Linked DNA regions of Homo sapiens: region 1 is linked to region 2. Evidence: promoter capture Hi-C in 16 types of primary human blood cells and fetal thymus (Javierre and others, 2016). All regions are on one chromosome and are shown on one strand. The core of a region is centred on a gene start or on the middle of the fragment in contact, and the rest is flanking DNA. Distances in the headings are between cores, read along the strand shown.

Evidence for each region. Contacts are between HindIII fragments. The CHiCAGO score rates a contact against its expected background, and 5 or more counts as called.
Region 1: a contact is called between a fragment that was not itself captured here and the fragment with the promoter of SUCLG2 in region 2, in 2 of 17 cell types (non-activated CD4 T cells and total CD8 T cells). The highest score is 6.1, in non-activated CD4 T cells.

What each region holds. Positions count from the first base shown.
Region 1 is chr3:68,053,757-68,056,456 of GRCh38, reverse strand. The region is part of intron 2 of TAFA1 (TAFA chemokine like family member 1); the gene reads right to left. Among named protein-coding and RNA genes, the nearest start is that of TAFA1, 51 kb to the right of the region's middle. The HindIII fragment of the contact is 884 bases long and covers 835-1,718 here.
Region 2 is chr3:67,653,169-67,655,868 of GRCh38, reverse strand. SUCLG2 (succinate-CoA ligase GDP-forming subunit beta) reads left to right here and starts at 1,257. Exons shown (of 11, transcript NM_003848.4): 1 at 1,257-1,366. The coding sequence starts at 1,283. SUCLG2-DT (SUCLG2 divergent transcript) reads right to left here and starts at 1,172. Exons shown (of 7, transcript NR_109992.1): 1 at 767-1,172. RefSeq lists an enhancer at 951-1,450 and a silencer at 966-1,645. The HindIII fragment of the contact is 5,512 bases long and covers 1-1,317 here.

The sequences.
Region 1 (2,700 bases), core at 27-2,526, 400 kb before region 2:
TTGGGTGACCACCCATCTGGTTTGGTAAGGACAGAGGGTGTTCCTGGGACATGGGACTTGCAATTTTAAAACCAAGACAGTCCCAGGAAAAGCATTTCAAATTTGCCTAGAACTTGTAGCTTTTCAGGATGTGGGACTTTCAGTACTAAAACCTGAGAACTCAGGTTGGAACTCAAAGTGGTCCTAGGAAACAGATCTCTAGAATTGGTCTTTGCAGCTAGAAACTAGCAAAATGGCAACAAAATTACCATTGCTAGTCACGAGTGGAATGGTGTGCTATGAAATCATAACTGCTGAGACTCTTACCTAAGATTGAATTGGGATGGGGCACAGCTGGAAGAGGATGCACTAGCTTATGCAATTTCTCTAGCACTTGAGAGATAGGGTGGCATTGGCCATTGGAAAGATTATGGAATTGGATAGTTGGACCAAGTACCATCAATGAGCTGAAAGAAGAAAATGACAGGCTCAAGTGAGCTGAACACCAACCCAGGGTTCAGTATGGAAAGCCAGAGGCCTCTCCGGCATCATTTAAAGAGACTCTCATCTTCTGCAGGCAGAGAAAAGATCAGGCTGAAAATCGGGGCTAGGACCTGATGTGAGAGAACTGTCTAGAGTGTTGAAGCAACAGCCCCAGCCAACATTCTAAGGCAGAGCATAGATAAAGAAGATGGAAAACCCTGAGATATGTCCAGGGAAAGGGACATCTGTGTAAATGCACTCCAGACTCTTGAACTCTCAGATTCTCCTTAACCCTCTGAGACTTCAGAAGTTATCTACATCTTATTCTTAGAATATAGCATCCTTTCCTTGCTGGGAGACCAAGCAGAAGCTTCACCTAGGAGGCAGCCTTGGGAGATGATACTTGCCTTCCTCAAGATCTGTCCCCACGTTCTAATATGGCTTGAGTAAGGAAGCACTTACTCTGCTTCAAGAAGTAAAGAATTATTTAATAACTGTGTTTCAAGTTCTGGTTAATAGGTAGCTACCGAAACTAGGAAAACAGGTGTGGCAGTGAACTTTGAGAGTTCTGTACCCTTGGGGTAGGGGAAGGGAGCAAAATATAGTGCTGGGTAATGGAGTTTATTGATATGGAGGCATTCACCATACAAGGCAAACAAAGAATCAAACCATCCCACCTCTTGCCCCCCGCATACATACACACACATGAGTATCTACCGATGACACTTAAGAGTTGGATTATAAATTCCTCTGCTCCTCAGCCCTTAGGTGAGGTGTTTCTGAGTTGTGTGCTTTACAGATTTCCCAGAGTTTCTTCAGGGGATTAAGTTTCTATCACGCACTATGGCAGGTGGCTTGGTAATTAACTCTTTTTTGACTGCCTTCCCTTTCCTTTCATACTTCCCCACTCCTGTTCATGTTTTCTTACCATCCAAATAAGATGCCTCCACCAAAACAACTGCCTGAAGGTCTGCTTGTGGGAGACCCTAAACCAAGGCATAGAGGTACATATCTCATTATAAAAACTTCAGAGCATAGTCTACCCCAAATAAATAAAAGACAAACATACGTAGTACTAGATTAAGAAATTGAGGATCATAAACTTGTCTAATAATGTAACTAGTGCTATAACCTTAGATCTTAAAATAGTGTCTGGCAAATGGTAGCTACTTGTTAACTGTCTGTTAAATAGATGAATAAACAAATGAATGAATAATATTAACCCCAATCAATTAAACTCAGAGGTTGGCAAAGCTTTGCCTGTAAAGCACCAGATAGTAAACAGTTTAGGCCTTGCAGGCCATACAGTATGTGCTATGACTATTCACCTCTGCTGTTGTAGTGTGAAAGCAGCCATGGACAATATGTAATGAATGAGTGTACCTGTGTCTCAAGAAAACTTTATTCACAAAAACAGCACATCAGATTTGGTCCACAGGCCACATGTCTTCTTAGTCTATTTTGTATTGCTATAAAGGAATAGCTAAGGCTGGGTAATTTATAAAGAAAAAAGGTTTATTTGGCTTGTAGTTATGTTGCCTAGAAGATTGGGCATCTAATAAGGGCCTCAGGCTGCTTCCACTCACAACAGAAGGTGAAGGGGAGCTGGAGTGAACAGATCACATGGAGAGAGAGGAGGGGAGGTGCCAGGCTCCTTTTAACAGCCAGCTATGGTGGGAACTAATAGAGTGGGAACTCACTCACTACCCTCCCTACTCCCCTGACCCCTGGCTCCCAAAGGGAAGACATTCATCTACTCACAAGAGGTCCATCTCCATGACCCAAGCCCCTCCCACTAGGCCTCATCTTCCAACACTGGGGATCACATTTCAATGTGAAATTTGGAAGGGACAAGCATCCAAACTATAGCAACATAGTTTGCCAATTGCTAGTGCACATAAAAATTAAAACTTCATATCTGTGAAGGGGAGTCCAGAAAACTTGTGATTTCTCTGATGGCTATTTTGATACTTTTTAAAATGTAAAAGTAGGTCAGTCATGGTGGCTCATGCTTGTAATCCCAGTGCTTTGAGAAGCCAAGGTAGGAGGATCACTTGAGGCTGGAAGTTCAAGATCAGCCTGGGCAATATAGTAAGACCTCATCTCTACAAAAAAATTTAAAAATTAGCCAAGTGAGATGGTGCTTGCTTATAGTCTGAGCTACTTGGGAGGCTGAGGCAGGAGGATGGCTTGAGCCCGGAAGTTCAAGGCTGCAGTGAGCTATGATTGCATCACTAC
Region 2 (2,700 bases), core at 8-2,507:
TGCAGACCTTTGCAGTGAGTGTTACAGCCCTCGAAGGTGGGGCATACGGAGTTGTTCATTCCTCCCAGTGGGTTCGCAGTCTCCCTGACCTCAGGAGTGAAACTGCAAACCTTTGTGGTGAGTGTTATAGCTCATAAGGATAGTGCGGACCCAAACAGTGAACAGCAGCAAGAGCTACTGCAAAAAGCAAAAGCACAAAGCAACCACAACCTGGAAGGAGACCCCAACTAGGGGCCACTACTGGCGCCGGTGTCCAGCTTTTATTCCCTTATTTGGCCCCACCCTCATCCTGCTGATTGGTCCATTTTACAGAGTGCCAATTGGTCCATTTTACAGAGTGCTGATTGGTCCCTTTTTAAAGAGTGCTGATTGGTGCATTTACAAACGTTTAGCTAGACACAGAGCGCTGATTGGTGCGTTTTTACAGAGTGCCGATTGGTGTGTTTACAAACCTTTAGCCAGACACAGAGCACTGATTGGTGCATTTACAATCCTTTAGCTAACAGAAAAGTTCTCCAAGTCCCCACCTGATTAGCTAGACACAGAGGGCTGGCTGGTGTATTTACAAACCTTTAGCTAGACACAGAGCGCTGATTGGTGCATTTACAATCATTTAGCTAGACAGAGAAGTTCTCCAAGTCCCCAACCGACCCACCCGGCTTCATCTCTCAGCTTTACATTGATTTTAGGTTAAGGATAGAACAAAACAAAACACCCACAACTCCTTAAGGGATGGAGAGCCTCCAATGGCCTCTCCTTGACTCACCTGAAGCCCTGGGCTGCAGGAACCTCACCTGTCTCTATTCGTTAAAGTCTCAGCTCAAACACCACTGTCCCAGATAGGCCTCGTGACCGCAGGACTAGACCACGGTTCTCTGCGGAGGGCGTCAGCTCCGTGAGCCACCCTTCCAGCACCCACTGCCATGGCGAATATTTGCTTGTTTGGCCATCCAGGGACTGTTTGAGCCCCAAGACCGCAGGGCTCGGGGTCTGTCTTTGCTCAGGACGATAACCTGGGGACTGGACAGTAGGCCCTCAGGCCTTGGGACCGCTCAAAGTGAACCGGGGCCGGGTGGGGGACCCAGGGCTCTGCAGCCTTAAGAACGCCTGTGCCCCCGGGACGCAGGGGTCAGGCCCGGCCCGGCCCAGACCGCCTCTGCCTCCTCCTCCTTTTCCTCCCCGCGCCCGCTTCTCCTCTGACCCCTCCTCCCGCTGCTCCTCCTCCGCCTCCTTCCCCTGCCCGCGCCCGCCCTACTGCCCCGTGCCGAGTTTCCTGTTTAAGATGGCGTCCCCCGTAGCAGCGCAGGCCGGGAAGCTTCTGCGAGCCCTAGCGCTGCGGCCCCGCTTCCTGGCGGCCGGGTCCCAGGTGAGCGTGGGGGCAGGAGCTGCGGGCGCCAGCAGCGGCGCCGGCCTGCCCGGGCTTCCCTCGCCCCCTGCTACTCTTGGTCTCCGCCTGACCCCCTGCGCGGCCCCTCGGGCGCCCCACTTCGGGAGGTGACGCGGCGCCGGGTCCAGGCGCAGCAGGGAACCCCGCTCCAGTGTGGGGCAGGGGCGGCGCGGCGGCAGCCCCGGGTGCCTCGGGGTATGAGCGACCCAACGCACTAGAGTCTCCGCTGTCTGCCCGCGCAGACTCATGGCGAAGGCGCTGAAGCAGGCGCTGGACGCAAGTTTAAGAAAAGTTTCTTGGACCGGGTTTTGGAGCCCTGAGGTTTTATTGTCAGCTCTACTAATTCTGCTTTTCAAACTTCTGGCACTAACCCTGAGCACGTTTAGACCACGTGATAAACATGCCTGGAAACCCGTTTCAGCCCAACTAGGAACTCACCCCCTAGGGTGAACTTCCTGCAGGCTACCTGCTTTTGCAGACTTTTAATGTGCCTGAGTTGGTCAAATCCGTGGGTCAAGGAGAAAAATGGGAAACGATCTTTCTCCTCTTTCCAATGAAAAATCAGGGCTGTCACTAAAACGCATTAGACCATTGACCCTGTCCATGTCCTCCTTGTTGATGGAGAATGAAATCAAAGAGGGTCAGTGGTGGGCTGGATAGCGATTGGAACTTGGCCTCTAGCAGATTTTTACCTTCTGCAGATGGCAAGCGTTAAAATAGTCAGAAGGACTTCAGGAAAGTTTTGAGTTGGTGATGACTCTTGTAGAAATCACTCAACCACTGAACTGGTTAGTCTCCGTAGACTATCTCTCTTCCCTTTTAAAGAAAGCACAGTCTGGGATTCAGCCACAGCAGAGTTAATGACCTTGCCTATTTCCCCATTTTTAATTGATGAGAGGCAAATTATCACTCATACAATTTTAACCAGGATGTGCATAGTATAGTTTTTTAGAAAATTTAAAAAATAGTGATTAATGATTTTTTGAGTTCCTCTAAACTTTGGTTATGACATCTGTGAGCTATTTTTACCCCTCTCCTTTCATTTCCTGCCTCCCCATTTCTCTGTTATTGTTAATGTAAATTTAAAAGGTGCTAATACTTACTACTGTAATATTCTTAATAGGTGCTTGACAGTATAGTGAGGTAGCAAAAGGAATGGCAGTTTTGTCTAATTAAAACTCACTAATAACTGTTGTAATAGAGTAAGGAGAATAGCTCTAGGAGATGAAGTCCTATTCATTATTTAAGTGTTAGAAAAAACAAGAACTAGGGTGCTTACCATGAGTGTAGACTTGAATTGATGAGAAACATGG